2 separate regions of the Homo sapiens genome follow, and region 2 is linked to region 1. The links are contacts of gene promoters, found by promoter capture Hi-C in blood cells and fetal thymus (Javierre and others, 2016). All regions are on one chromosome and are shown on one strand. Each heading gives the region's core, a stretch centred on a gene start or on the middle of the fragment in contact. The rest is flanking DNA. Distances are from core to core; before and after follow the strand shown.

Region 1 (5,395 bases), core at 1,205-3,704:
CAAATAACTGGGATAATCTCCCTATCTCAGTCACATGGGCAAAGTCCCTTCAGCCATGCAAGGTAACTTATGCACAGATCCTGGGAATTAGGACACGGACATCTATGTACAAGTCTATCAGTTTATAATACATGGCCGGGGGCAGTGGCTCAGGTCTATAATCTCAGTACTTTGGGAGGCCAAGGTGGGAGGATCACTTGAACCCAAGAGCTCGAGACCAGCCTGGGCAACATAGTGTGTCCCCAGCCCTACAAAAAAATACAAGAATTAGCCATGTGTGATGGCATCTGCTTATATCACAGCTAGGCAGGAGGCTGAGGCAGGAGGATCACTTGAGCCCAGGAGGTCGAGGCTGCAGGGAACTATGACTGCCCTACTGCACCCCAGCCTAGGCAACAGGGGGAAGACCCTGTCTCAAAAAACAAAACAAAACAAAAAAAAGAGGGTGATCATATAATTTTTCATCTATAGCAAGACATTTGAGAGCAAAAAGGGACTCAATAGTTACAGAACCAGGCCAGGTGTGGTAGCTCACGCCTGTAATCCCAGCACTTTGGGAAGCTGAGGTGGGCAAATCACAAGGTCAGGAGTTTGAGACCAGCCTGACCAACATGGTGAAACCCCATCTCTACTAAAAATACAAAAATTAGCCAGGCATGGTGGCGGGTGCCTATAATCCCAGCTACTCGGGAGGCTGAGGCAGGAGAATCGCTTGAACCCAGGATGTGGAGGTTGTAGTGAGCTGAGATTGTGCCACTGCACTCCAGCCTGGGAGACAGAGCAAGATTCCGTCTCAAAAAAAAAAAAAAAAAAAAAAAAAAAAAAAAAAAAAGGCTACAGAACCAGCCTGGCTAACAGGGTGAAACTCCATCTCTACTAAAAATACAAAAAAAGCCGGACGCCTAAAATTGTACCCTGCTCAACAGGCCCCTCTTAACCCCCTTCCCTGCTGTAGTCACCTCCTCAGCACGGACATGATTATCTAACACACCATACATTTTGCCTATTGACCTTGCTGATCATCTGTTTCATCCACCAGCATGGAAGCTCCACAGGACAGGCCTTTTTGCTGATTTAGGTCACTGCCACGTTCTTACCAACAGGAACAGTGCCTGGCTGAGATTTGGCACTCATTAAAGATGTGTGGACTCAAGGTGTTGAATGGGGGACTGGGAAATCTCACAGGAGCCAATAGGCTCCTGTGTGCACTTTATTTTATTTTATTTTTGTTAGAGACAGGGCCTCACTCTGTTGCTCAGGCTGGAGTGCAGTGGTGCAAACGTAGCTCACTGCAGCCTAGAACTCACTGACTCAAGCCTCAGCCTCCCAAGTAGCTGGGACTACAGGCACATGCCACCATGCCCGGCTAATTTTTAAAAAAATTTTTGTAGGGATGGGGTCTCACTGTGTTGCCCAGGCTGATCTTCCCACCTCTGTCTCCCAAAGTATTGGGATTACAGGCATGAGCCACCTTGCCCAGCCCTGGGTGTGCTTTACAGGGGACTTGAGAATTAAATGGGTGTCTAACACTTGCGGGTACATGACATAGAGGGATCTATGGTTTATGCGGAAAGCTAATGGGGGCAGGCGGGTTACTCACAGGCAGAGCACATGCTTGTGGACCTGCTACAGTGGGGATGTATGGGCTGTACTGGGGTCCACATGAAGATATAAAGGACCCTATGACGAGCACAGAGAATATATGGGGGTCTAAAAACATAACACAGGGAAACTGAGGGGGTTCTGGAAGCTTCTCTGTAAAGAGAATCCAAAATCACTCTGGGCTGTGGGTAGATATGGGGCCTTGACATTGGTGGGGACACAGACTTACCCTTACCCTGAATGGGTGGCCTTAGGGGGCTGGGGAAACAGACATGAATTTTGGGTCAGCAACTCCAAGAATTCTTTCCCCTCTCTGTCTCTGTCTCCCTCCATATGTCCCCACCTCTCCCCAGCACGTGTCCCTCCACCTGTGTGTACCCCCGGCCCTCTCTACAGCTCCATCTGCGCCCCCTCTCCCCCACCTCTCTGGTTGGTCTTCCTCTCTCTGTCTCTCTGAATCTCTGACTCTCTCCATCCCTCTGTCGGCTTCCAGCAGCTTTCTCTCCCTCTCCCTGTCTGTTTTCCCGGCTTGCCATTCCTTCCTTCTCTTCTGTCCCTGTCCATCTCTGCCCTTCCTCCCTCTCTGCCTCAGCCTGTCTCTGGTGGTCTCCATCCCTCTGGCGTCTCTGCCTGTCTCCCGTCTCTGTGTCAGCCAGCATCTCTCTTTGTGTATCTCCATCTCTGCCCCATCTGTTGGGTCCTCTCTCTCTCTCTCCATCCTTCCCTCCATCCTCTCTCCTGCATCCTCCCACCTCCTCTCCATCCCTCCAGCTGGAGGCCCGCCCCCTGCCCCCCCTCGCTCCCCCTCCCCCCTCCGAAAGGGTTAACTTTGGGGAAGGGCCCGGAGTCCCCGGATGGTGATGTCAGCGTGCCGGAGAGAAAGGACGAGGTGGCGGGGGGAGGCGGAGAGGAGGAGGAGGCGGAGGAGAGAGGGCGCGTGGGGGGGCGGGGGGGACCTCGGCCTGCAGCATCCGCCGGCCCGCACCTCAGACCCCCCCGGCGGGGGGAGGCGCAGGAAGCGGGGGGCCGGCCAGAAACGGGCTGGGGAGGGGGGGCCCCGCAGCCCCCCTGGGCCATGCTGACTCCCGGGGCCTGACCCCCCCGGGCCAGCCCCCCCTCCCCCAGCTCCGCGGCCCGCCGACTGGGGGGGGCCAGCCCAGCCCCCTGGGGACCCCCGGAGAGGTGGGGGGCAGCCGGGGGGGCCGGGACGGAGCGGTCGCCGGCCCCCACCGGAGAGACGGGGCGACGGCCGCAGGGGGGGCGGCCGGGGGACCGGTCGGGCCGGGACCAAGGGCACCATGTCGTCCGGGGCCAAGGAGGGAGGTGGGGGCTCTCCCGCCTACCACCTCCCCCACCCCCACCCCCACCCACCCCAGCACGCCCAATATGTGGGCCCCTATCGGCTGGAGAAGACGCTGGGCAAAGGACAGACAGGTGAGCCTAGCAGAAGGGGACACCTGGGGCGGGGGGCAGGGTGGAGGTGGCGGCAGAGGCGGGACTCAGGGTATTCAAATGGCAGGGGCTGGCTGCCCAGACCCCTGGGCCCCTCATAGAGAAGGGACTTGGGATTCAGACTCCTGGGTCCCTGGATGGAGGGGGTGGGGGGCGCAGACTCAGGTCCTGGAGGAGAGGGGCTGGGGGCCTGGACTCCTGGGTCTGAGGGAGGAGGGGCTGGGCACTGGACTCCTAGGTCTGAGGGAGGAGGGCCTGGGGGCCTGGACTCCTGGGTTTCAGGGAGGAGGGCCTGGGGGTCTGGACTCCTGGGTTTCAGGGAGGAGGGGCTGTGCTTGGACTCCGGAGTCTGAGGGAGGAGAGGCTGGTGGCCTGCACTCCTGGGTCTGAAGGAGAAGGGCTTGGGGGCCTGGACTCCAGGGTCTGAGGGAGGAGGGGCTGGGGGTCTGGACTTCTGGGTCTGAGGGAGGAGGGGACTGGGGTCCTGGACTTTTGGGTTTGAGGGAGGAGGGACTGCGGTCCTGGACTTTCAGGTCTGAGGGAGGAGGGCCTGGGGGCCTGGACTCCTGAGTATGAAGGAAGAGGGTCTGGGGTCTGGACTCCTGGGTCTGAGGGAGGAGGGGCAGGGGTGCTGAACTCCTGGGTCTGAAGGAGGAGGGGCTGGGGGCCTGGACTCCTGAGTCTGAGGGAGGAGGGCGGTCGGAACCTTGAGTGTTGGGACAGGGAGTTTGGGGCCCCAGTGCTCCAGTCCCCATAGGGGCAGAGGCTGGAGGGGCTCCAGGGCCAGGGAGGGGATGGAGGCGGCCTGCAGAGTGGGGCCGGGCTGGGACCTGAGGTTCTTGCTGCAGTACAGCTGCAGACCGGGGTGCAGTGCATCCATCCTGGGAAACCTCTTCCCTCCCCACTGTCCTCTGGCCTCCAGTTCTCCAGGCAGCAGGTTGGGGTGACAGGGGCCGTGGGGCCTAAGACATTCTCCCCTTCTCTGGCATGCTGGCTCAGAGTGGGAAACAGGATGGAGGGTGGGAAGGTGGGCTGCAGCAGGCGCGTCTCCTGGAGCGGCTGTGGAAAGGGCGTTCATCCTCTGCTGTTGCTGAACGCTGGCCACCGGCCGCGGCCTCCTTCCTGCCGGATGGATGGTGGGTGGAGGTGACATGGGAGCTGAACGCCCAGAGTCTCTATGAAGCTCAGGGCCAGAGCTGGCAGGAGTGGGGACCGACTGGGCCGTAACTGGGAGCTGAGACCCTAGGGAAAAGGAGAGGGTCAAAGTCCCAGATCCTGAGTGGTAAGAGTGTGAAGGTGTTGCTGACCTGAATTCCTGAGTTACAGGAGAAGAAGGGGTCAGACCTGGACTGGGTCTGAGGGAGGAGGGGCTGGGCCTGGAGTGCTGGGTCTGAGGGAGGAGGAACTGGGGGTCTGGAGTGCTGAGTCTAAGGGAGGAGGGGCTGGGGGTCTGGAGTGCTGGGTCTGAGGGAGGAGGGGCTGGGGGCCTGGAGTGCTGGGTCTGAGGGAGGAGGGGCTGGGGGCCTGGAGTGCTGGGTCTGAGGGAGGAAGGGGCTGGGGGGGCTGGATTCCTGGGTCTGAGGGAGGAGGGGCTGGGGTCTGGACTCCTGGGTCTGAGGGAGGATGGAATGGGGGCCTGGACTCCTGGGTCTGAGGGAGGAGGGGCTGGGGGTCTGGACGCCTGGGCCTGCAGCTTTAGGGGCTAGTCAGGGCTAGGTCTGTGGCTTTGGGGGCTCAGGTCCTGGAGTCGAGGGTCCTGAGGAGAGGTGTGGGCTAGGAGACCGGACATACCCTTGGTGTCTGTGTGCTGTCTGTTAGGGCTGCCATGAAGAGAAGACCCAGGAAGGCAGTTGAGGCTGGGGGTTCAGGAGAAGGTGGAGGGTGATCTGGGGAGGGGCAAATGTGAGATTATATTCACTGGGAGGGGATTCAGGAGGAGGTGGAGGGTGGTCTGGGGAGGGGGCAAATGTGAGACTATATTCGTTGGGAGTCATAGGGTCTCCAAAAGATTGAAAAGCAGAGAATACAAGGAATTGATGGAGAGAGACAGAGAAAGTGGGGGGGCGGGGGCTTGGAGGAGACAGACTCGGGGAGACACGGTGAGGAAAGAATGCGTGGCAGGCGGGCTCCCCAGGACGGAGAGGGTGAGGGCCAGGGGGTGGCTGGCAGAGGAGAGGGGCACCTGGCTGGATGGACAGTCAGGAGGAACGGACTGGCAGGAGGGAGGGGAAGGGTGGTTTTGTGGGAGTGTGGGCTCTCAGCCCCAGGAGTTCAGGTCTGATGTGTTCAGGCCATTGTTAAACAGCCAGCCCAGGAGGAAGGAGCAAACAGGGTGGCCAAG
Region 2 (3,213 bases), core at 714-3,213, 1.1 Mb before region 1:
CAGGCGCCGAGTGGAGGTGGGGGCCTTCCCTGCCTGCTGGCCCTGGGACCCTGACCCCGCCAGGCAAGAGACAGGTGGGACGGGAGCTGACCAGAGGCTGACGGGTTGCTGGGGAAGGTGAACTGTTGGTGATTGTTGGGGAACACTTCACAGAATTTGCTTGCTAGTTTCAAAGCTTGTGATGCAGTTGATGTTGGGCAAGTTCCCAGTTTTGTCTTCACATGTAGGGGAAGTGGGTTAGCGTAGGAGAAGGGGCGTTGAGGGAAGTCTGTTCCTCCTCTCCGCGTTCAGTGCTTCTGTGGACTCACGGTCAAGAGGTTGGCAGGCTTCCCTTTTCTCAGCCTTGTTGATCATCTGTGTTGGGAAGGGGTTTGGTTTCTGAGGAAGTGAGAAACCTGAAATTGTGCAACCCCCTCAGGCTGCAGGCTGTAGTTGATTGGGTCCTTATCTGGAGGCCTTCAGGGTTTGAGGTCAGGGCAGGGACAGTTCTGGAACACAGCTAAGTTACTGTAAACCACGTGGAGAAGTCCATTGCGGCTTACTCAAGCTAGGTGGTTGGCCCTTCCTTCCCTCAGCGTTGCTACTTGGGAAATGACGGTGGTCTTGTGTCCATGGGGCCAGCTGCTGCACCATCTGGGCTCACTGTGGTCTCCTTCCTTGGAGCGTGGGGTCTGGGCTAGTGGATGGCCGGGGCAGCGTACTCACTGGGCTCCTGGGAGCTCCCCTGGGAGGAAGAGACTGCAGTTGTCTCTGGTCTGAGAGGTGGTGGCTCACCTGGGTGTAGCTCACAATTGCGGAGCTCCACGGCAGCCTGGAGGGAGGGGAGAGTGGGAGTTGAGGTATGCGGTTCTGGGGAGAAGCCTACGGGCTTGGAAAGGAAAAGGGTCTTCAGGGCTCTGTCTACAGAGGCAGCGAGCGGGGCAACAGAGGGAGACTCCATCTCAAGAATTTGTAGAGATGGAGTCTCAATGTGTTGCCCCGGCTGATCTAAAACCCTTGGCCTCAAGCAATCCACTCGCCTCCCAAAGCGCTAGGATGACAGGTGTGAGCCACAGTGCCTGGCCTGCGTGGGTCTGTTTAATCTCCGGGCCTCTTGCTCTCCCTTTCTTGGTGATCTCCTTGGACCACATCCCTGTATCATTCTCTCTCTCGACCCTGAGCCCAGGGTCCAGAGCAGAGAACGGGATGGGGTCTGGGTAGGGGCCCCTCACTTGCAACCAGGATGTTGGGTGGGGGCGACGGGGGACCGACCTTGGGCAGGAGGCATTGTGTCCACCGCAGCATCTGTGCTGGCCCCCAGGGGGGTGGCTCGCATGGCCCAGGGGGACGTCCAGGAGGTGCTGCCCATCTAGGCGCTGGCGGGCTGGGAGCCCCTTGTCCTGGTCAATGCAGAGCTGTCAAAACCGGCCTCTGAGTGATGCTGAGGGGTCAGGCTGTCTCCAGAGAGCACCGGCGATCCCGGCTGTGCTGAGAGGGAGGGCTGAGGGCTGCCTGGACGCCCCTGAGATGAGGCGACTGGTATTTAGGGGATGCGTACTCTCTGGGGCCCGCTGGGGCCTGCAGGGAGAGCTCTCACCGGTCTCAACTCCATGCCTTCTGCCTTGTGCTTCTGGCCCAAGAGGTCGGGGTCACTGACCACCCCGTGTCCACCTAAGGCTTCCCTGGACACACAGCAGGGAGATGGGCAATGAGGGTGGGGGTTGTGGCCCTGCCTGTCACGGTCCCCAGCAGTGCAGATGAATTAGACCATTGAGCCACAGAGCCTGGAGGGCAGATGGGTGTGCTGGTATAAGGAGCCCCGGGCTCTGTGTTACAGGTCATGTGTTCTCACCAGTGGCCTTGCAGGAGGGGAACAGCCCCTTCCCCAGGGCCTCGCTCTGCTCCCCCTGAAGGATGGGGCTGAGGGGACAGCAGGCTCTGGGGGCCTTTCAGACCACATTTGAGTCAAAATTTGACTTCCCCATACTCTGCCTGCTTCCACCTCACCCAACTCTCATCCAGGGGTGACCCTTGTTCTAGCACATGAGGCTGAGGCCAGAGAGGGCAGGGCCTTAGGACACAGCCCAGTCACTGTTCTAATTCTAGAGGCAAGCCCCTTCCATGTCCTGAGCTCTGTAATGCATCTTTTCTTTCATGAGCCTTGCGATCAGGCGATGTTTATTCAGTGGTTACCACATCCAGGCATGCTGCCAGGAGGAGGGGAGTCGTGGGTGAAGCTGATAGGATTCCTGCTGGACTCACAGAGCCTGGGTTAATGACACATTACCCATGTTTAGATAGGAGGTAATTCTGCTCCGGTTTCGACAAGTTGTAGGAAAGGAGGAAAACATGCTCATAGCAGGTGAGCAGCGTACACCTGTCATGGGAGTGAGGGGTCCTTCTGGGGGATGGAGAGACCAAGACGTGAACAGTGAGTGTGGCACGCAGAGTGTCCTCCACCAGAAACAGTGTGGGCTGTTCTCAGACCTGAGAGTGAGCCAAAGGAAGCTGGGACCTTGTCATTCAGGGGACTTGTGCACCGTGAAGATTTATTGGATGCTATGTTTAAGAAAATGGAAAATCCGGCCCGGCACGGTGGTTTGCACCTGTAATCCCAGCACTTTGGGAGGCGGAGGTGGGTGGATTATGAGGTCAGGAGTTCGAGACCAGCCTGGCCAACATGGTGAAACCCCGTCTCTACTAAAGACACAAAAAATCAGCCAGGTGTGGTGGTGGACGCCTGTAATCCCAGCTACTCGGGAGGCTGAGGCAGGAGAATCACTTGAACCCGGGAGGTGGAGGTTGCAGTGAGCCGAGATCGCGCCACAGCACTCCAGCCTAGGTGACAGAGTGAGACTCCATCTCAAAAAAAAAAAAAAAAAACCGGGGAATCTTTAGAAAGCACAGTGGAAACAGATGTCTGTTTTTACAAGCCCATCACTGCACAGAATGCAATATGGGAGGGTTTCACTAATGGTTAACCATAACCACACTCCAGCGTGAGCCCAGCCACTAGGCAATGTGCTGATAAGGATTCTAAGTGGTTTATGTGGACTCCTCATGACCTATGACACACATACGTTTACAGTGGAGTGGAACGAGGCAGGAGGGCTTCTCTTTGTCATAGTCTACCAGCTCTGCAGAGGTGTCAGCTACATCCGGATTGGCTCAGGGAGCGGCCGTCAGAAGACTTACACGTGTTTAATAACTGAGGTTGTGTGTGTGTGGCAGGGG

What was found. The method cuts DNA at HindIII sites, captures the fragments that hold promoters and counts their contacts. A CHiCAGO score of 5 or more calls a contact.
Region 2: a contact is called between a fragment that was not itself captured here and the fragment with the promoter of BRSK1 in region 1, in 1 of 17 cell types (total CD8 T cells). The highest score is 5.1, in total CD8 T cells.

Annotation. Positions count from the first base shown.
Region 1 is chr19:55,281,543-55,286,937 of GRCh38, forward strand. It overlaps BRSK1 (BR serine/threonine kinase 1), which reads left to right and starts at 2,455. Exons shown (of 19, transcript NM_032430.2): 1 at 2,455-3,036. The coding sequence starts at 2,901. The HindIII fragment of the contact is 8,428 bases long and covers 1,749-5,395 here.
Region 2 is chr19:54,207,928-54,211,140 of GRCh38, forward strand. No RefSeq gene overlaps it. Among named protein-coding and RNA genes, the nearest start is that of RPS9, 8.7 kb to the left of the region's middle. RefSeq lists silencers at 25-208, 655-830 and a cis regulatory region at 594-854. The HindIII fragment of the contact is 3,581 bases long and covers 174-3,213 here.